5 separate regions of the Homo sapiens genome follow, and regions 2, 3, 4 and 5 are each linked to region 1. The links are contacts of gene promoters, found by promoter capture Hi-C in blood cells and fetal thymus (Javierre and others, 2016). All regions are on one chromosome and are shown on one strand. Each heading gives the region's core, a stretch centred on a gene start or on the middle of the fragment in contact. The rest is flanking DNA. Distances are from core to core; before and after follow the strand shown. Region 1 holds the start of BLOC1S5 (biogenesis of lysosomal organelles complex 1 subunit 5). Region 2 has its middle 5.8 kb from the start of BMP6. Region 3 overlaps LOC105374906 (a long non-coding RNA gene). Region 4 overlaps LOC100506207 (a long non-coding RNA gene). Region 5 overlaps SLC35B3 (solute carrier family 35 member B3).

Region 1 (4,494 bases), core at 1,816-4,315:
GCCAATTATGGTTCCCCTTGATGGGCTTATACTAAGGAATAAATTATAATTTTATTCTTGGTATACATGTAATAACTCATTTATTTTTTAATTTTCAAAAGATTCAACATGGGATTACAGCAAAAAATTTCCCCCAAAGTCAGAACTTTACTTCTACTAAATTGACAATATCTCCATGATTTAGATGTCTTGAGTCTCAAAAAGCACAGTAATTGGAAAAATCCCTTTACAATCCCATGCTTATATTTGTATATGATATTGATTCTCCAATCTTGTATAGAGGTTATGATGTGAGTACAGCTATTCTTAAAAACATAAAGGTACTTAATGTATGATTTCATTTCTATAATATTTTTGAGGTGAAAAAGTTTTTAGAAATAGAGGACAGATGATAGGTTGCCAGAAGTCAGGGTGGGGACAGGGAGGAAGGTAAATGTGGTTATAAACAGGAACCTTAACGAGATCCTTATGGCATCAGAACTGGTCAGTATGCTGACTGTGATGATAGATGCATAAATCTACATGTAATAAAATTGCATAAACTTAAACATATACACACACAATGAATACAAGGAAAACTGGTGAAATCTGAATAACATTGGTGGATTGTATCAATGTCAATATCCTGGTTGTAACATTAGCATTTGCAAAATGTTACCACTGGGGGAAACTAGGCAAAGTGTAAAAGGAAACTCTATTATTTCTTACAACTGCATGAGAAGCTACAAATACCTCAATAAAAATTTCATTTAAAAATACAGGGAAAGTCTTGTCAATCCAGAGACAATAAGAGACAATACAAGACCTTCAGGGAAAGGATAAGAGTCCCATTTTAGCCTCAAAACTCTTGAGATTTCATGGGTCAAAGACCAAGGACACACTCATAGCAGCTGAATGTGCCAGGCGAAATGGCACTGCCAATGTTGCTTCTCAGTCTCCTAGCTGTCTGAGCCGCAGTGTAAAGATTTATATAAAAGCGGAGAGAGAACAGAGGCATATGCTGGACCTCACCATCCCAGAGAACAATACAACTTAATAGTGTATAATCAAATGGCTAGAACACATATTCACAGGCTACAAGCAACAGACTTGCAGAAAAGTAATTGTGTACTTATTCAGTGTTGGCTCCCCTGCAGGCTGCATGAGGAAAGGAAAAGGCTGCATTAGTCTTGTTCACCACTGTGTCTTAGCTCCTAGCACTATGCTGGGCACGTAGCAGCTGCTCAATAACGTATTTGTTAAATGTTTTTGAATGAAAAAATGAAAAGCCCATGTGGCCTGTTAAAGTTAATATGGCTTCTCTCTCCCTTCTCTCCAAATCTCCCTTCCCCACTCTCTCTTCACCCACCACCTATGCTTAAACACATACACAGAGACACAGAGGCAGTTGTTTCTGCCACATACAAGTCAGGCAGTCATTTAACCTCTCTGTGCCTCAGCCTCCTCGTCTGTAAATGAGGACATTAATAATAACTACTTCAAAGGCCGGCCATGAGGATTAAATGAATGCAAATTTGTAGACCACTTACAGTATTACCTGGCATGTAGCAAGTGCCATGTAAGTGTTTGTTAAACTGCAGTGCTATCCGAAGTTAGCACAGACTTCAGAGGTCAAAGCATGGTCCTCCTCAAGACTCCCCTTCAGACACCTGCCACAAGCTTTGGGGTTCCCAGGCCACCTGCACTTCTGACCAGCTGTCTCTGTCATATGCCCAGGGCCTGAGCACTGTCTGCTAGGGTGCCTCAGTTCTCACCCACGCAGCTTCTCTCTACACATGATGTTTCATTGCTATTCGCTTTACTCCCTCAGGTTTCACAGAATGACTCATAGAACTCAAGAAAGTGCTTTCCTTGCTATTACAGTTTTATTATAAAGGACACATATCAGGACCAGCCAAATGAAGAGATGTATAGGGCGAGATGTGGGAGATTTCCCAAATAGAAGCTTACGTGTCCTCAGGAACGCTTCCCCCTCCTGACACTTTGATGAATGATTATCGACCAGTAAGCTCACCTGAGCTTCCACATCCAGAGTACTCACTGGGGTTCCATTATGTAGGCATAGTTGGTTAAATCACTGGCCACATGGCTGAACTCAGTCTCCAGCCCCAATCTGCTCCCCAGAGGTGGGCCTGCTTATGTGACTCAAAGCCTAAGCCCTCATGGTTGGCCGGCCCTTCTGGTGTGGCCAGCCTCCATTCTGAAATCATCTTGGGCCCTCCATGAGCCATCTCATTAGCATAAACTCAGGTGTATTTCCAGAGGCCCACCATGAATAACAAAGACACTTCTATCACTTGGGAAATTCTAAGGATTGAGGGTACCTCCCAGGAACCAGAGTCAAAGTCCAGTCAAATTCTTTATTATACAACGTGAGTTTACTGACTTGAACAGAAAGAGGGAGCAAGAGAAGCATTCTAGGAAACAGGTGTCTAAAAAGAAAGGCAGGAATAGTCAGCCACACTCATGGCATAGTAGGGAAACAGCCCCCAGCTAATTGGCTTTGCTATACAGTAGTCCCCCCTTATCTGAGGTTTCACTTTCTGTGGTTTCATTACCCGCAGGACGGTACAATAAGATATTTTGGGAGAGAGACTACATTCACATAACTTTTATTAAATTGTTCTAATTGTTCATCTCTTACTGTGCCTAATTTATAAACTTTATCATATGTATATACAGGAAAAAACATAGTATATACATGGTTCAGTACTATATGCAGTTTCAGGAATCTACTGGGGGTCTTGGAATGTATTCTCAGCAGATATGGGAGGACAACTGTACTGGAATGCACCAGCTTTGAGCCAAATAACCAGGGCTCTGAGTTTAGCTCCAAAGTTCAAGCACCTTCCTATTCTAGCAGCATCCGCCCTGATCCAGCATGGCGGCAAGAGCTTCTGCCAGTTCACAGCCTGACTACACGGCAGGCGCCTTTCCGGAACCGCCCGCTGGGTAGATTAAATTTCTCCGGCGCCCTGTAATGACACACACACAAAAAAAACCCGGGCGCGCCTTGTAAGAGGGCGGCCGGGTTTGCGCAGGCGCAGCGTGGCCGCGGGTGGGCGGAACTGGTCGGGATGAGTGGCGGAGGGACAGAGACCCCTGTGGGTTGTGAGGCCGCCCCGGGCGGTGGCAGCAAGAAGAGGGACTCCCTGGGGACTGCGGGCTCAGCGCACCTCATTATCAAGGGTACGGAGTGTCAGGGCTATAGTTCCTGGTGGATCCCAGCACAGCCTCATCTCCCAGGCGGCGCCCTCTGACCCGGGCCGACCCCCGGGTCCCGGGCTGGCGCGCGTGCGTTTGTGCGGGTGGGGGAGTCGTGGTCGGTCCCCGCCTTTTTCCCCGCGCCAAATGCGTCCCACCACAACCAACCAGCCCAACTCTTCGTGTTTCCCCGCTTTCCTCTGTCGCAGCCTGAGCCATCAGGCCCGCCCCCGTCCATTCCGCAAGCTCAGGACCCCTGGGCGCAGAGCCTTTGGGCAGCCTCGCCACCGACGTGTAGTGGAAAGGGCATTGGACCTGGGAGGCGGGAGGCAGTCGCTTAGGAGTTGAGTGACTTCGGGTCACTGGCTTTACTCACTCTCCTACCCGATCTGTTCCTGGTCGTGCGAGGAGTAAGTGAGATACACTTACGAAGGCGCTCTATAGCACTGTAAAGAACCATTCACGTTCAGAAATGTCCATGTGTTCTGTGTGCTTTGAGCTGGGAGAAGGTTACAACCTAGATTCTCACAGAATCTGCTTTAGGTTTGACTCCTAAAGCTCACAACGCTGTTTGCTGCGTGAAAGTCTTTGACAGTTGAGTTGTAGTGCTTTATATATACCAGATATAAAGTGCTTATATACAGTGCTTGTATTATTTTTTCTACTTGACATGCTTAAGAAGATATGTACTAATAAAATTCATTAAAATAGAGAATTGAAACCTGCCCATCGTATGTCTGCAAAAATGAAAAATTTGGGGAACATTGCCAGTGAATGAATATGAATAATACATTGTCTTAGATTTAATTTCTCAAGGAATTTTGAGACTTACATTTTAAACTACATAGTTGTAACTAAGAAGAATAATAAACTGACTCACCAAAAGACTTAAATTCAGACCTTTTCTTAATGACTTTTTCAGACTTATGAAAAAGAGACTTACAATGAACATTCACCACCCACCTTAATAAATAAATTACTAAAAGCCCCACTGTGTCTTGCTCTAATTGCACTAGTTCCCCTCCCTCGTCTCAAGGTAGCCACTATCCAGAATTTGGTGTTTATTATTCTTGTGCATTTCTTTATAGTTTTGTTGCTTCTGTCTATATCCCAAAAGGAAATATTTTGAATATTTTAAAGTTTTATGTAAATTGCTTTAATCCTTCTGAAACTTGCTTTTTTATTATATTTATTATAAAATACGTATTATTTTTTATATTTATGTTGATAAGTGTAACTCTGATGTATTTATTTTTACTTGGTGATTGATAGAATTCCATTGTATGAGTA
Region 2 (4,497 bases), core at 1,254-3,753, 340 kb after region 1:
GCTGAGGCAGGCAGATCACTTGAGCCCAGGAGCTCGAGATCAGGCTGGGCAACCTAGTAAGACCTTGTTTCTACAAAAAAAAAAAAAAAAAAAAAATACAAAAATTAGCCGGGTGTGGTGGTGCACGCCTGTAGTTCCAGCTCCTCAGGAGGTTGAGGTGGGAGGATCGCTTGAGCCAGGGAGGTGGAGGTTACAGTGAGCCCAGATCACCAGATCACACCACTGCACTCCAGCCTGGGTGACAGCAAGACCCTGTCTCAAAAAAAAAAAAAAAAAATCTTGTAAACTGTGTAGCTGTCATGTTTAAAAGACTGAGGTCTAGCCTCCTTGAATTATTGAGACGTTCCACTCCAAAGACCAACTTTTTATCTTTACTATTAGCATAAGGACCTGAGTACTTCTTAATGTTAATTTCAAAGTATAATAATTCGATCAAATTTTTAAAATATCGATTTAGAGTTGAGTGAAAAGAAAATAGATAAATGGTTGTAAAGTATGAGAAATGAAAATTTGCAAGTGAAATAAGTATTGCTTCTGAAAGCTACACCTGTAAGACAGCCTTCAAAAGACCTGTCTCATCCAAAAGTCTGTGGTAACATTTACATTCAGTCACACTCCGCTTTCACTGTCTACTCAAAAATGCTGGGCATTCACACTTCAAAATATCATTCAAGTCATCATATTTTCCTACTCATGAAGGACATCTGGTGGCAAAGTGAAAAACTAATACATAAATCTGTTTCCAGAGATTTTTTTCCACACCATAACCCAAATAGCAAATCTGTTACTTGTACGTGTTTCAAGCTTTTCACACAAGCTCAGATCTCTATGACCCTAGGATTTAGGCTGTCTACATAATATTAAGCAACAGAATATTTCGAGACATCCAGATGATTAAATCGTTTGTGAAATTTTCATTGAGTAATTAACATGTGCAGACTAAGTCTTCAATTTTTTTTCTGAGCAAAACAATGCTTAACACATTTCCATGACTAGTTTTACTATCCCTGAAGAGTTTTATTCCAAGAAATGATTGGACACTTAGTTAACTGGGGTGCATGAGGCTCCCTGGCCTGTGCTGGCCTCTGAGCTTCAGTCCATTTTGTGACCCCACTCTGTACCTCCTGTCCAGGATGTGTCTCTGTGTCACTAGGAGGTAACATAAAAATATGACATTATCCTGTTAGTAATCCCCTTAACTAGCAAAGCCGTAACCAGTGGCATGTGGAGCCAGGGAAAAGCACACTGGTGGTAAAATCAGGTTAAAATGAAAGTCACTGACAGCTTTTTAAAAAGAAGAGAAAGGCTAATTACCCAGTCTTCATTCATTCATTCAACACATCTTTCCATGCCTATGTGCCAGGCAGTGGTCTAGGTTTTGGGATACCAAACAGAAATCCCTGTCCACATAGATTCTAGATGGGGAAATGGATAGTAAACAAAATAACTAGGAATGTATACTGTGGTAGGCAGGATGTTGGCCCTCATGATTTTTGCCCCTGGTTTTGAAGGGGAAGAGGCCACAGGCCAGGGAATACAGGCAACCTCTGGAAGCCAGCAAGAAAATAGCAACCCCCGTCTTAATTCTGAATTCTTTCAACAACCTGAATAAGCCTAGAAGCAGATTCTTACTTAGAGCCTCCAGATAAGAGCCAGGGCAGGTGACATCTTGATGTCAGCCTGGTGAGACCCAGAACGAAGAAGGGAGCCTAGCCTACTGGTCTTCCAATCTGTGGGACCCTGAGACAATGAACTTGTGTTGTTTTAAGCCACTAAATGTGTGATATTTTGTTTTGACAACAATGGGAAACTAACACATATATAGTAGGGTGGTAAGTGCTGCGGAGAAAATTCAAACAGGGGAGGGGGCTAGGGAGTGTGTGGATGGTCAGGTAAGGCATCACCTCCTGACAGAGAAGACAGCACTTGAGCAGAGACCTGACAGAGTCTGTGGAGCCAGCCATGGGGATACCTTCAGACAGAGCTCTCTAGGCAGTAGAAATGGTAAGTGCAAAGGCCCTGTGGCAGGGGCATGCCTGGTGAGTTTGAGAAGAACAAGAAGGCCAATGAGGCTAGAACAGAGGACATGAGAGGGAATAACAGTAGGAAATTGGATCAGAAAGCCAAGGGAGGGTGGGAATTGGGGCCAAGGTGCTATAGAGTTCTGGACGCCAGACACCTTGGAGGAGATTTGGGCTTTTAAAAAAGCGTGAGATGGCACAACATGGAAAAATCTCACAAACATAACAGTGAGGAAAAGAAGCCAGATAAGAAACAACACATACTGTAATTCTATTTCCACAAAATTCAAAAACAGGCTTACCTAATCTAGAAGACAGCGTAGTGGTTCCCTTTGGAGAGACAAGTGGGAGTATTGATTGAATGACAGCACGTGGGGTTTCCCAACAGTTGGTCTATTTCCTTACCTGGGTGGTGGTTATACAGGTGTAGTCAATTTTAATCATTTCATGAGTGCTACACAGAGGCTCTGTACGCTTTCTGTACGTATGTTACTTTGCAATAAAAACTTTGGTTTAAAAAAATAAGTATGAGAACAACAACAAACAAGTGTGAGATGGGAGGGCTGTTAGATGGTTTCGAGCGAGAAGTGACAGGAGCCAACTTAAATTTTAAGAGTCTCTCAGGTCACTGTGTTGAGAACAGACTATGGAGTTGCCAGGGCAGAATCAGGGACACTAGTCAGGAAACCGTTTATGCTCAGACAAAAAATGATAACGGCTCGTAGGGGACCTCATATGGAAATAGTGAAGGTACAGAAAAGTAGTTGGATTCTGGACACATTTGAAGGCAAACCCCGATGATAAGAGGATGTGCATGTTGCATGGAAAAACAAGCCATGCAACAACTTCTCCTTCTGTAGAGGTCCCTCCCACTGCACAAAGCCTGGGGTAGTAGTGTGAATTTACTATGGCTGAGGAAGATCGTGTTCATGCACTAATGACTGTGGGTTAATATGCTGACCATGCCAAAAAGTGGCTTGGAGGAGCTTTGGCATCAGCACCCACACTACAAAAAACCACTCATAATACTCATAATAAACAGAGGGCTTGCCGGGAAAGAACAGCTTCAAGACAAGTCCCCTAATAGCCTTCCCACAAGATTCCCTCTGTAGTAACATAATAGCTCCATCTCTGAACATAAAATTTCTTCCAAGATATGAAGTTTAGCCATTAAGTATTCATTTTCTATTTTTTTTTTTTTTTTTTTTTTGAGACGGAGTCTCGCTCTGTCGCCCAGGCTGGAGTGCAGTAGTGCGATCTCGGCTCGCTGCAACCTCCGCCTCCTGGATTCATACCATTCTTCTGCCTCAGCCTCTCAAGTAGCTGGGACTACAGGTGCCCGCCACCACACCCGGCTAATTTTTTGTATTTTTAGTAGAGATGGGGTTTCACCATGTTAGCCAGGATAGTTAAGTATTCATTTTCAAAGGACTCCTATAAATGTGGTATCCTGGATGAGTTATTGAAGGAAAAATAAGAACTTTAAGAAAAAGCTAATCAAATTGAAATAAAGTATGGAGTTTACTTAGTAATGCTATATTAATGTTGATTCATTAATTATGATGTAAAATGTCATGTTATAATAATAGGAGACACTGGGTGTAAGATATACAGGAACTCTCTGTACTATCTTTGCAATTTCTCTGTAGATTTAAAATTATGCTAAAATTAAAGCTAATTTTTTAAAAAAACATTCTTGTAGCTTTAATCTTAAGATGTAATAATTCAAGCTCAGTTACCTCCTTTGCTGTAGAAAGTAATACATGCTTGGGCCAGGCACGGTGGCTCACACCTGTAATACCAGCACTTTGGGAGGCCAAGGCAGGCAGATCACCTGAGGTCAGGAATTCAAGACCGGCCTGGCCAACATGGTGAAACCCTGTCTCTACTAAAATTACAAAAATTAGCCGGGTGTGGTGGTGGGCATCTGTAATCCCGCTACTTGGGAGGCTGAGGCAGGAGAATTGCTGAAACCTGGAAGGCGGAGGTTGCAGTGAGCTGAGATCACAGCATTGCACTCCAGCCTGGGTAACACAAGTGAGATTCTGTCTCAAAAAAAAAAAAGTAATACATGCCTTTATTCCAATTAGATTAGTAATGACAAAATTATATCGCTAAGTTTTTACTCAGGATTGAATTTATTAATCTATATTAAATCAATTATTACTAAAGCCAAGCTTCTTAGCTCCCAATTTACTGTTTCCTTACACATTGTCTCAAGCCACTTAGTGTTGAGTTTTTCCATAATTCATTTTTAACTCAAAATTATGGGATTACCTAAAGATGTTAAATTTCATGTCAACTTTTCTCGCCTTCCTGTAAGTTACTTGCACGTTGTTTTTAGGATTCCACTTTGATTGACTGATTGATAGCATTTTTTAGTTATCTTTTTGTATAGCTTTCATACTGGTTGCTCAGGTTACTAAAATATGCATTTGTGACTTATCACAGTCTATTGGTATCAACATATTTCTAC
Region 3 (4,498 bases), core at 698-3,197, 360 kb after region 1:
TAAAAAGAAATAAGCCAATTAGTTGCTTAAGTACTGCAAAAATATGTAGCAGCCACCTGCTTCTACTTGACATCTATTTTTTCAATTCATTTAGAAATACACACTGCACACTCCATTGAGAAGAAATTGAGACAGGTCTCTATTTTTTAAAAGGAGCATTTTTGATGCAATAATTGGATCAGCTTATTGAGAACATCATACTGGGATATGAATTCACATAGAATTTAACTTGTTGACAAAAGCAAGAAATATCAAAAGTCGAATGAACAAAAATCTTAAACAAAAGGATTCCTTTGTAACAGTTAGACTAAGAAGCTATCTAGCTCCAAAGTTCAGGGTATTTGGGAGAAAAAATAGGGCCTGTTTCCTTGCAGGAGTCTTTTTAAATTGTGAACTTTTTAAGCCCTAAAATATGGTTACATAAATATACATCAGCCTCCCTTGGAGAAGAACTTAGTTATGAAACTGGTAAAAAGTCTAAATAAGTGAATTTTTTAGTTCAGCCACCGATTATCCAAGCAAGTTTCACTTGAGGAAATTGTCCACACCCTTTTTACTCACAATCCCTGCTTCTCTTCCCTTAAATGCCTCATAGAATATTCCTGCTTCAACCAAAGAGGGGAGCATTTGGAAGTCAGATTATTTCTAGTCTTCTGTAAGCTTTAAAGGGTATCAGCTGTTTCTTTCAAAAACTATGTTTTATACATGTTAGTATGCCTAACATTACATTTCTTCTAAAATAAGGTATTGATTTAGATGTGCTTTTTAAAAAATAACTTACTAATTCAGAAAGATTATCCTTCAACACTATATATTCATTCCTTTATAAAGCTGACAAAGTCACTCAATAGACCAGCATAATAGTTTATTTTTGCTGACATTTTTCCTGTTTTACACGACCATGGGTATATAAGCCCTACCACCATCTCCATGTATCCTCTTGATGTCTAAAACATGCTTTGTAACTGTTAAATATGTGATTAAACTGTCAAAAGTATATGGAGGCAGCTGCATAAATTTTGAAACCAAAGTCAAAGTTCTATTTGTTCTATGACTGTGTGAGTGTTGCAAACTTTACAGCATTATGGAAAGTTAAAAACCCCACCCCAACATCTTTTTTTAAAACTTATGCTATAATAATTTCTTCCAAAAACTAGTCACTTATTAACGTGTTCTGTTTCTAAGATGAAATGATATATGATATACATATTTTTAAAACATTTTATTGAAGTATAATATATATTCAGAAAACTACATAGGTAGTAATGCACAATTTGATAAACTTTCACAAACTGAACACACATATGTAACCAGAACCTAGATCAAGAAACATGACCAGCCCCTCACACCCAGTTCCAGCAATTCCGGGAACCCATCCCAAGAACAGCCACCATCCTGACTTGTAACAGTCTAAATTGGTTTTGCCCATTGTTAGGGTTTGGATTTTCATCCCTGCCCAAATCTCATGTTGAGCTGAAATCCCCAGTGTTGGAGGAGGGGCCTCGTGGGAGATGACTGGATCAAAGGGGCAGATTTCCCAATTTGCTCTTCTCGTGACAGTGAGTTCTCAGAAGATCTGGTGGTTTAAAAGTGGGTAGCACCTCCCACTTCACTCTCTTCCTCCTTCTCTGTCCATATAAGATAAGCCTGCTTCCCCTTCACCGTCCACCATGATTGTAAGTTTCCTGAGGCCTCCTCAGCCATGCTTCCTGTACAGCCTACAAAACTGTGAGCCAATTAAACCTTTTTTCTTTATAAATTATCCAGGTTCAGGTATCTCCTTATAGCCATGTGAGAACAGACTAATACACCCATTTTTGCATTTCATATGAATGGAATCCCACCATATGCTGATTTATGTCTGTTTTGTTCAATACTATATTTTATACATCGAAATAATACGTTAACCTCCAATGCTAACCTCTACAGCACTGTAATTTTTATTTTATTACAACACAATATTTCAATGTGTTCCAGGAACACAAGAATATTCATTATTATAGATAACATTTCAGTGTTTATTTGTTTATAGAAAATCAGTAAATAAAACTTCAGTTTATTAACATGTGTTTCAAAGTTCACTGCTTTGCCAAATTGAATTTTGGCAATTTAAAAAATAATCTAAAAATCATTATACACATAAAGATATAGGAAAGATTTTATTTTTCTTGAAATAGGTACAACTTCAATTTGTTCTAATATTCTGAACATTTCTCTATATTCTCAGTGTTTTCTCTCATGACATTTTGTGATCTAAATGATTTTAAGATTTATAAACCAAATTCTTTGGAACAGTCAATTCTTTAGATCAATTTGTTCTCCAAAGCAGGTTATGACGTGATTCAAATGACATACTAAACCTGGAAGTGAATCCCACTTTTGCCACAAATTAGCTGTGTAACTTTAGGTAAGTTCCTTAACCTTTCTGTGCTACCTTCTGCATCCATAAATAAGATGGTTTCTGCAGGTTCTCCGAGCTCAAAACATTCTAGTTCAAAAATATTTTCAAGTAAGAATTTGCCAAAAACAAGAGAATCAGGAAACAAAAGGTTTCAGGAAACAAAAGGAAACAAAAGTTCCATCAGTTTACTTTAAAAAGGAATAGCTGCTACCATGTGCTGAACTGGTTCCTGGACCAATCCACAGTGAGACACTCATTCAGTAGACCATCTTCCATTTTCCCTGTACAGTAAATGCTTGAAGGTAGCTCCCAAGAATGTTATACACTTTCCTTATGGAGGTGTATAAAATTCCCTGTCACACCCAAAGGGTATCGTAGAAATGTATTTCCTTTTGGGCAACATCTTTGTTATTGAAAGAAAACCTCCAAAATGGTGTTTCCACTTTTTTTTTTTTTTTTTTTTTTTTTGAGATGGATTCTCGCTCTGTCACCCAGGCTGGAGTGCAATGGCATGATCTCAGCTCACTGCCATCTTCGACTCCCAGGTTCAAGTGATTCTTCTGCCTCAGCCTGCTGAGTAGCTGGGATTACAGGTGCGTGCCACCATGCCCAGCTAATTTTTGTATTTTTGGTAGAGATGGGTTTTCACCACGTTGGCCAGGCTGATCTTGAACTCCTGACCTCAGGTGATCCACCAGCCTCAGCCTCCCAAAGTGCTGTGATTACAGGCGTGAGCCACTGTGCCCAGCCTGTTTCCACATTTTAAACTTACCTTTAAGTACTCAAATGAAGAGCTGTGTCTATGAATGGCATTTTCTATATGGCAAGCTTAAGCAATGGGTATAACTATGGGACACAAAAACTTATAATCCAAAAGACCACCAGGATGACTAAATAGTAGAAAGAAGAGCTTTATTGGTGATATCAGTTGCAAGCTGGAAGAGAAAGTCTCCAGCATGGACCAAAGATGCTCTCTCTTCAAACAGGGGAAGGACAGGTTGGGTCTCATTCCTCTGAGAGTCTGTATTACACAATAGAGTCATACGTATTCAGCAGGTTTGGGGTAGAAGCTATACATATTTATGAGGAGAGCCAAGCACAGGAGCAATGAATAAACAAACATGTAATATACATCCCATATTCACTTTGGGGCAAAAGGTGAACTATAGGACACAAAGACAGTGTGTGTGCAGCCTCTATAAGCTGGCTGAAACTGGCTTAAGGTCTGCAATTGCTCATCAGAAAAGAATGTTTGTAAGGCCTGTCCTCTGTCCAATCAGAATAGTAGTGGTCTGGATTGCAAATTGGAGTTAGGATAATTTGCCCAATAGCTCCTATTGTTAGGGAGTTTAGCAAGAGTGTGGATTTTCTTACAGGAATTTAGAAATTCGCAAGGCCAGCTGGGCCCTAAGCTCTCAATCCATAGGTAAAATTTTTTTTTCTTTTTTTTTTTTTTTGAGACGGAGTCTTGCTCCATCACACAGGCTGGAGTGCACTGGCATGATCTCAGCTCACTGCAACCTCCGCCTCCTAGGTACAAGCAATTCTCCTGCCTCAGCCTCCTGAGTAGCTGGGACTGCAGGTGTGTGCCTCCGTACCCAGCTAATTTTGTATTTTTAGTAGAGACGGGGTTTCACCATGTTGGCCAGGATTGTGTTGAACTCCTGACCTCGTGATCCACCCACCTCTGCCTCCCAAAGTGCTGGGATTACAGGCGTGAGCCACCTCACCTGGCCAACTTTTTGTTTCGTTAACCTTAAGGTCCTTCTTCATTGATAAAGTAATGTCTACTTTGGTCTCCCAGATCACAATCTCAATCTATTTTCCCAAAGAGAAAATTAATCAGGTAAAACAGTTGATTAATGATTAGCAAATAACAACAAAAAACACCTTAATACTTTAGTCCTTAGAATCCTTAAGTCTAATCATAATGCTTAAAAAAACAGCACTTCATATTGACGATAATGTAGTTCTTCAGGTAATAAAAAAAATTTAAAAAATAAAAGCACTTCATAGATAAGGGACAAATATTATTTTTTTTCATCTCCCTTTCTTATGTTCCCACAAATGGGAAAACTGGGGTTATCTTCAAGTTTA
Region 4 (4,147 bases), core at 265-2,764, 380 kb before region 1:
AAATCTGGCACATTCACTGCCAGCTGGTCTTTTCTGCTCAGAAGACCCCTCTCTATAGAGAGAGCTGTTTTTCTTTCTCTTTTCTTCTGCCTATTAAGCCTCCACCCCTAAACTCTTCATGTGTGTCTGTGTCCTAAGTTTTCCTGGTGCAAGACTACGAACCCCAGGTATATACCCCAGACAACATAGCCGCTTCAAAAGGAATGCAGCACTGTTGACCATTTGATTACATCCCAGTGAGGCTCATTATGTTTGTATGTAATGTATGTATGTATGTATTTAGTAGAGATGTTACTCTACTCTACTCTCTATGCTACTCAGGCTGATCTCAAACTATTGTCCTCAAGCTATCCTCCCACCTCAGCCTCCCAAAGCTCTACGATTATAGGCATGAGCCACTGTACCCACCCAAAACCCACTTTGAAATTCTGTCCTATAGAACTGTAAAATAAAAAAACTGTGTGGTCTTCAAGCCACTAAGCTTGTGGTAATTTGTTATAGCAGCAATAGAAAGCTAATACAGTTACTTATATACACAAGACGGACCAAAGTAAACTAATACAATTAAACATCCCTAATCTGAAAATCTGAAATCTGAAATGCTCCAAAATCCAAAACTTTTGAGCACTGACATAATATCACAAGTGGGAAATTCCACACATAAGTACTTAACACAAACTTCGTTTCATGTACAAAGCTATTAAAAATATTGTTTAAAATTACCTTCAGGCTATGTGTATAAGGTATTTATAAGGCATAAATGAATTTTGTGTTTAGACTTGGGCCCCAGCCTCAAGATATCTTATTATGTATATGCAAATATTCCAAAATTTTTAAAAAATCTAAAATCTGTGAAACACTTCTGGTCCCATACATTTCACATAAGAGATACTCAACCTCTAGAAAGGACGGAGAAAAAGAAATAGTGATAACAAATAATTAGAGTTTTATTGAAAGGAAAAGAAAGGAGGAGGGAAAATACTGATTTGTGAAAGAAACTGAGTTCACACTTAGGATGACTACAGGGTTATATCACTGCATCCAATGTCGCTAACAAGCAGTTTGAAAAATGAGAATAAAGCATAGGTGAGCAGTTAATTACACAGATATAGAGGACAAGTCCGTAATCTTAAATTAAATTGATTTCCTGAAGAGGAGTTTATACAAAAGATCAGGAAAACAGAGACTGAAACATGAACATTTTGAGGACAGGACAAGGAACAGTGAGGTAGGAGAACCAGTCAGTGCAGCAGTACAGAAGTCAAGAAAGAACAAAGTTGCAAAATGCAGCTGGTTCTCAAAAGTTCTAATTGCAGCTGTAGAGAACAGGCCTAATAAATGTTTATTTAGGTTGAACAATTAGTGACATAAACCCTTCAAGACTTCACAGTAGAGGAGTGGAGGAAGTTAAATGCTTATCTTACGTAAAAACAAGCTTTAGCAGTTCCCACCCACTTGCTCCTACATCCCTGGGAGCCATCTTTATTTTTACTCCACACCCACCTGGCCACAGAATTTAGCCTTCTTTAAATTCATCTGAAATAATGCACCTATGCAGGGCATTAATGAACAATGCAGATTTACTGAAGCTTTTTAAGAATATGAAGTGGTGGAATTATAAATCACAGCCTCCATAAAACAACTTAAATACTCCAGTTAGATACAGAACCTATAGTCTCCCAAAAGCTCCCTTCTCAGCCATACCACACTGGTGATTCCCTTTATTCTCTCCCTCCTTCATTTGTTTGTTCTTTCTTTCTTTCCTTCTTTTTTCTTTTTTTTTTTTTTGAGACAGGTCTCACTCTGTCACCCAGGCTGGAGTGCAGTGGTGTGATCTGGGATCACTGCAACCTCCGCCTCCCAAGCTCAAGGGATCCTCCCACCTCAGCCTCCTGAGTAGCTGGGACTATGGGCATGCATCACCACACTCAGCTGATTTTATTTTTGTTTTGTTTGTTTGTTTGTTTTCTAGAGGCAGGGTTTTGCCATGTTACCCAGACTGGTCTTGAACTCCTGGAATCAAGAGATCTGCCTGCCTTGACCTTCCAAAGTACTGGGATTACAGGCAATGTGAGCCACTGCGCCCAGCCTGGATTTTCTCTAGCACTTTAAACTTCATCACCTTCCAAGTGGTGAACAAGAATTAAAGTGCTCTAAAATTCCATTGTCCTGAGTGGTAGATAGTAGTCATATGTGCTACTCTGAGCACTTGAAATGTGGCTGGTCCAAACCAAAATATGCTGGAAGTGTGAAATACACACTGGATTTCCAAGATTTTGTATAAAAAAACAGATGTTAAAGTATTTCATTAACAACTTTTTATATTGATTGCATGTTGAAATGATAATATTTTGGTTATATTGAGTTAAATAAATATATTATTAAAATTAATATCACCTTTTTTTTTTTTTTTTTTGAGACAGAGACTCACTCTGTTGCCCAGGCTGGACTGCAGTGGCATGATCTCAGCTCACTGGAACCTCTGCCTCGCTGGTTCAAGCCATTCTCCTGCCTCAGCCTCCTGAGCAGCTGGGATTACAGGTGCCCGCCACCACGCCCTGTTAATTTTTTTTTATTTTTAGTAGAGATGGGGTTTCACCATGTTGGCCAGGCTGGTCTTGAACTCCTGACCTCAAGTGATTCGCCTGCCTTGGCCTCCCAAAGTGCTGGGATTAGAGGCATGAGCCACCACACCCGGCCTCATTTCACCTTTTTAATGTAACTAGCAGAAAATTTAAAGTAGCTTCCATGGCTTATATTATATTCCTATTGGACAGCACTGTTCTGGAAATAAAAAGAACTTCATGTTAATAAGACTAACCCTCCATGGAAGGCAGTTTAAGAATAATCTTCTAAGAGGCTAATCGAATTACTTCTTACAAAAAGAAAACAAAACACAGAAACTTTGACCAAAAAGGGATTCAAAAGCCAGGTGTTAAACGAGCAAAATATTTCTCCATCTCATTACACATGCTACCTCTTTATGAAGAATTTTGCCCCATGCCAATTATCAGTACTGGGAAAGAAGAGGAGTCATGGCTGGTGTCCAGGTGGCCCAGTTCTGTGAACCTCTATCCATTTAGGAGACAGCAGAGAAAAACTGATAGCCCTGGAAGTCAAGCAACCTACAGGGGAACTGAATCTATAACCACAGCCTCATTAGCATAGCCTATAGCTCCCATTGCATCCTGTAGTTAATACCCTTATCAACACAAATCACACTATAATTACTTGTGTAATTAATTATCTCCACCACACAAGGCTGTGAGCTTTGTGAGGGCAGGGATCCATGTCTGTCTTGTCATCCACATATCCACAATACCCAGTAGCATGCAGAGTAAGTGCTCAATAAGTATTTATTAAATGGATATTTAATGAAAATCAAATTAACTAGTTTTTCTGCTCAGTGCATCTGGAACCATATATCTATCAATGAACTTCCTAGTTTGGAAATGCTATATAACCTATTCCTTATGGAAGAGCTAGAAAAGTGACAACTGATGACTATATATAAATGGATTATTCTAATGATAGTAGGCTATATTAATAAGAATATTAATAGCTAACTTTTACTAAGTGTTTGTCAGGTAATAGGTGTTGTGCTAACCATTTAACCATCTTTAAACATCTTTCACTTACTCATCACTACAATTTACCACATAGGTACTACTGTCATTCCCATTTCACAGATGGGGAGATTGAGACTTAGAGAATTTAAGCAATTTGCACAAAGACACTCAAAGAGCAAGGGGTGGTGCAAGGATTTAAATTTAATCTGACACTAGAACCTGAGACTTAACTATGCAAGATGATTCTTCACAGACACATGACTAAGTAACACCAATTGACACGAACTGACATTGTTGATCACTCCTTCCTCCTTTAAACATTGTCTTCACCTGGCTTTTAGAAGACTGTACATTCCTGGACCCATCCTATGTCAACAGCTGCTTCTTCTAAGTCTCCACTGCTGGTTTCTCTTTCTCGCTCCCCCAAGTCACATGACTTGATTATCTAGGACATCCTAAAATACATAAAAACACCTCCCAAAAATTGCTCCTAGGAAATGGAAGGCATTTATCCATAGGTGCCCATTCCCCATTGGTGGATCATTGCCTGGGGGTGTTAATGCCACCAAACTTCCCAA
Region 5 (4,361 bases), core at 344-2,843, 350 kb before region 1:
TAACTGACACAACTTGATTGACAAGCAATAAAATCACTATTGAATGAGGTGTGGGTAAAACCACTGTGAATATTGGAGGGAAGCTCATAAACATATGAAAGGATTCTGTACTCTGCAGGGCACTTTTAAACAAAAACACCTTGGAAATCATGGAAAATGTGTGCTGAGTGTGTTTATACAAAGGAGAAAATATGGAATTCTATTCAGGACCCATGCTCAAAGAAAAAGGCCCTGACAGCAGCGTGCCTGTTTATGTGATTTAAATTAAACATTTTAGTAATAATAGGGTTTTTCAAAAATGACTTTTCTCTTCATCTGTTTTTTTTTTTTTTAATTAACTGAATAGCCACCAATCCCAATAGATAGATATCCTAAGAGTTTCTTCTACACTTTCAGAACTAGTGGAACTATTAGACTAGTAGAATATTTATGGAACTGTTATTTAATACGCTATTGAAATGTGAAATGTGATATGTACAGAACTAACTCAGTTTATTAGTATATCTTTTTTAATATCATCACATATGTACTTGTTACAACCGATTGTGAATAAGAATATTCTGGATTACCGAACAAATGTAGTTGAAGATCTGCTTTTGTTTTTTAGACCAATGAAATTTCTGATAAAGCTTGATTATAGTTCATATGTTTAAATAAGGAGGGTTTTTTTGTTTGTTTTTTTAATACCTTCTTGAAGGTGTGGTGCTTATTTCCCTGGCACTATGTGCAGATGCCGTCATTGGAAATGTTCAAGAGAAAGCTATGAAACTTCATAATGCTTCTAATTCTGAAATGGTAAATACTCTAGTGTTTTTTCTTCAAATTAGACAGATTTAAAAAATGGTGATACACGTAATTTGATGAAATAATTATTATAACTAGCATTGCATTTTTAAACTCATTTTTACAAAAGTAATACATTCAAACATTATAGGAAGGTAAAAACTAAAACTACAACTAGCAGTGCTAACCGCTTGTTGCATAGTTGACAAATTTTTTCCTCATTGATTTAGTTTTTTATGTATTAAAATAAAATCTTTTGTTATATCCTTTCTCTCATCTCTTTCTAGTGGGTAGTATTTTTCCATGTAGAAGTTTGTAATTTTTATATGGCCCAATTTGTCTTTTCCTTGCTGGCTTCTGGCTAAGTATCATGGTTGAAAAGAGCTTTCCTAACCCTGAGATTTAGAACATTTCATCCCTGTTGCCTACTAGTTTTGTGATTTCCTTTTTTATTAAGCCCTTGATCCAATCTAAAACTTTTTTAAAAGAACTTTTCTTTCAAATGACTACCATTTTTTCTAATATCATTTATTGAATAATCCACTTTCAGCTCATTTTAAATGCCCTCTTTATCATATCACACTCTTGTGTGGCATTCAGAATTGTATTTGAATTTATTTTTGCAATAGTACATATAATGACAGCAGCTTTATCAGACATTTATTATCTGTTAGGACTAGCTACCATTGTTCCTTTTCTTTTGCAGAATATTACTACCAGTAGTTATTCTGGGGTGTTTATATTCCCAAATAAACTAAAAATCCCATTGGTATTGTGATTGGTATGGCATTGAATTATAAATTAATTTAGGGAGAATGGCATCTTGATTATTTCAGTCCAAGAATAAGGTATGACTTTTCTTTTACTCAAGTGGTCTTTTTTTCAATGTCCATTAGAGTTTAAAGTTTTCTTCATGTAAATCCAGCACATTTCTTATTAAAGGTATTGTTAATAATAACTTATTAAAGTTATTTCATCTTTTTGTGGTTATTGCAAATAATATCTTTCTGTATCTCTTGTAACTGTTTTTTTTTTTTGCAAGTAGTGTCTTTTTGTATATCTTGTAACTGGTTTTTATATAGGAAAATTATGTGTGTGTATGTGTGTGTGTGTGTGTGTGTTTACATTAATTTTATAACCAACCACCTTGCTGGACAGAAAGAGCATACTGAATTAAGGATAGACAGGACTATTCTTTCCTGTTATTTTCTTGACACAGAATGGGGCAACTTAGGTAGTCTCTAATAACACAGGAACTTGGTTAAGAATTTTCTTCATCATAATCACTACTCATTGTAGATAAGGTAAGGATGGGCACAGAGAGAATTGAGGGAGTGTAGGTTGTTAGAAAGTTAATATAATGCAGTGTTTATGATGGTAGGCTCTGGAATAAGATAGCTCAGTTCATATCCTGGCTTTACTAGCACTCATTTGGGGAAAATTACTTAATATCTCTAAGTTATAGTTTCTTCATCTGGAAATTGGATTATGATAACTAAGAATACCCATATCTAGGGTGGTTGTGAGAAGTAAATGGAATAATCCGTACCGAGCTTCAACACAGTACCTGACACACAGCAGATATTTAGGTTTGCTGCTGCTGCTGCTGCTGCTGATTCTGTTTATGAAAAGCATAGTAAATTGGGATTAAAAGGTTGGTTGGAAAATAGAGAAGTTAAGCAGTAGATATGCCATATGCTGCTTATTTTCATTATATTTTAATGTATTTTAGAAACTTAATTTTTTTATGTTTTATAAGTATCTTTAAAGCTTTTTGTTTTGTTTCATTTATTTTTTTTAGAACTCTAATATGAAAATCTGGTTGATTTCAATAATTAAGCCTAGAAAGAAATGAATATGTAAGCATATATGAAAGGATTAATATTACTAGGTGTTATTTTGTACATAAAATGAGGCATAGACTTATAAAACATTAGAATCAAATAACATTTCTGGAAATTTAGGCCATATTGAAATTATAATGTTTCTTTTAAAATGTTTGTTCTGCAAACCTAATTGAGCCATAGAGTTAAAACCCTTAATCTTCCATTTTCAGTTTCATAGTACTTTTTTCTGCTTTATTTTTATCTGCTCTAGGTATTGTATTCGTATTCAATTGGTTTTGTATACATTTTACTGGGATTGACATGCACTAGTGGATTAGGCCCTGCAGTAACATTTTGTGCAAAGGTAAACACTAATCACATTTAAAAAAAAAAATCTTCTGTTAAATAATTTTCTCTAAATTTCTCATTTCCCTTGTTCAAAAGAGGCTATCATAGATATAATGATACCTCCTTTAACATAACATGCCAATCGGAAATTAATTTCAGAAATGAAATGACTGATATTTAAATTTATTTTATCCTTGCTGTACCCTATGAGTTGATTTTTAAGCTGTTCATAATGTAGGAAAGTTGAGGATCTTTAATTTCAACATTTTTTTTTCATTAAATCAAAATAAGAATCTTTGCTTGACTGCATTGTCAAACAACTTATTGCTCAAGAAGTTGATTAACATCTGTAGTTTTATTTTATTTGTAATACCTCGGAGTTTGTTTTACATTTTTCTAACAGGCTTTTTTATTTTTTGCAGAATCCAGTTCGGACCTATGGTTATGCGTTCCTTTTTTCCCTCACTGGATATTTTGGAATCTCCTTTGTTCTGGCTTTGATTAAAATTTTTGGTGCACTTATTGCTGTAACAGGTAGGAGGGATTTACTTGCTTTGATTATAAAATAAGCATTTACATTTTCTCTGATGCTCTTTTTCAAAACATAAGGGCAACATCTCCTTTATATTAAAAAGAAAATTATCATATTTCACCAATTTATTCTTTGGCTTATGGTGTTTCTTTAGAATTCTAAAGAAAATGTTGTTTGATCTTAATTTCTTATTTTGATGGTTTAATTTTAAAATCAAACATATACATTTATCAGAACAGTAACCCTTAAACGCATTAAAAGAACTTTCTATAAAATTATGATGAGATGACGACCTCCAAAGAAAGTACTGCCTTTATATGCTTTTAACCTGTAACTGAAACTTTCAGTTTTGTTGCATTTCAAGTATGAGAGGTACACTTTAAATAAGCTTTTTAGGCCTTTCATTTGTACATTTTCTAGGACATCAACCAGATTAGCTTCCCTTTTCACCAATAAGCACTATGCACCTGCTGTGTGCAGGGTCTTTGCTTGGCCCTGTAGAAAAATCAGTTGTATTTGTTCTGCTTTGGAGGAGTGTATAGCCTAGTGAGGGGAACAGATGAGTCAATGTGCCACCTGTGTCATCTGCCAAAACTCTAAGGCACAGCTTTTGCCTTAGAGGTACAGGCAGGAGTTTTCCTCTCTCACGTAAAAGAAAGCCAGAGCTGGCAATAATCATAGCTAATGCATACATAGCCCTAGTATGTACCAGACACCATTATTTTAATCTCACAGCAGTCCTATAAATTAGGCACTATGATTATTCCATTTTACAGATGGATAAACTGAGGCACGGGGAGGTTAAGTGACTTGTCTCATAGTCAACCAGAGCCAGGTTCCAGTGATGGCAGTCTGGCTGCACACCTGTGCTC

Evidence for each region. The method cuts DNA at HindIII sites, captures the fragments that hold promoters and counts their contacts. A CHiCAGO score of 5 or more calls a contact.
Region 2: a fragment that was not itself captured here is called in contact with the fragment with the promoter of BLOC1S5 in region 1 in 16 of 17 cell types (M2 macrophages, megakaryocytes, naive B cells and 13 more); the score reaches 19.9 in M2 macrophages.
Region 3: a fragment that was not itself captured here is called in contact with the fragment with the promoter of BLOC1S5 in region 1 in 4 of 17 cell types (M2 macrophages, M1 macrophages, megakaryocytes and 1 more); the score reaches 6.8 in M2 macrophages.
Region 4: a contact is called between a fragment that was not itself captured here and the fragment with the promoter of BLOC1S5 in region 1, in 6 of 17 cell types (non-activated CD4 T cells, total CD8 T cells, naive CD8 T cells and 3 more). The highest score is 10.9, in non-activated CD4 T cells.
Region 5: a contact is called between a fragment that was not itself captured here and the fragment with the promoter of BLOC1S5 in region 1, in 1 of 17 cell types (naive CD8 T cells). The highest score is 5.1, in naive CD8 T cells.

Annotation. Positions count from the first base shown.
Region 1 is chr6:8,062,960-8,067,453 of GRCh38, reverse strand. It overlaps BLOC1S5 (biogenesis of lysosomal organelles complex 1 subunit 5), which reads left to right and starts at 3,065. Exons shown (of 5, transcript NM_201280.3): 1 at 3,065-3,189. The coding sequence starts at 3,078. BLOC1S5-TXNDC5 (BLOC1S5-TXNDC5 readthrough (NMD candidate)) reads left to right here and starts at 3,040. Exons shown (of 13, transcript NR_037616.1): 1 at 3,040-3,189. All of the region lies in intron 3 of EEF1E1-BLOC1S5 (EEF1E1-BLOC1S5 readthrough (NMD candidate)), which reads left to right. RefSeq lists enhancers at 1,482-1,631, 1,642-1,741, 3,432-3,621, 3,231-3,857. The HindIII fragment of the contact is 8,031 bases long and covers 1,948-4,494 here.
Region 2 is chr6:7,718,047-7,722,543 of GRCh38, reverse strand. No RefSeq gene overlaps it. Among named protein-coding and RNA genes, the nearest start is that of BMP6, 5.8 kb to the left of the region's middle. The HindIII fragment of the contact is 3,394 bases long and covers 807-4,200 here.
Region 3 is chr6:7,698,781-7,703,278 of GRCh38, reverse strand. LOC105374906 (a long non-coding RNA gene) reads right to left here. Exons shown (of 4, transcript XR_926437.4): 4 at 3,297-4,498. Among named protein-coding and RNA genes, the nearest start is that of BMP6, 25 kb to the left of the region's middle. The HindIII fragment of the contact is 2,569 bases long and covers 663-3,231 here.
Region 4 is chr6:8,439,637-8,443,783 of GRCh38, reverse strand. The region is part of intron 2 of LOC100506207 (a long non-coding RNA gene); the gene reads right to left. Among named protein-coding and RNA genes, the nearest start is that of SLC35B3, 6.2 kb to the right of the region's middle. The HindIII fragment of the contact is 154 bases long and covers 1,438-1,591 here.
Region 5 is chr6:8,416,014-8,420,374 of GRCh38, reverse strand. It overlaps SLC35B3 (solute carrier family 35 member B3), which reads left to right. Exons shown (of 10, transcript NM_001370479.2): 6 at 698-795; 7 at 2,881-2,973; 8 at 3,380-3,491. Among named protein-coding and RNA genes, the nearest start is that of SLC35B3, 17 kb to the left of the region's middle. The HindIII fragment of the contact is 1,924 bases long and covers 632-2,555 here.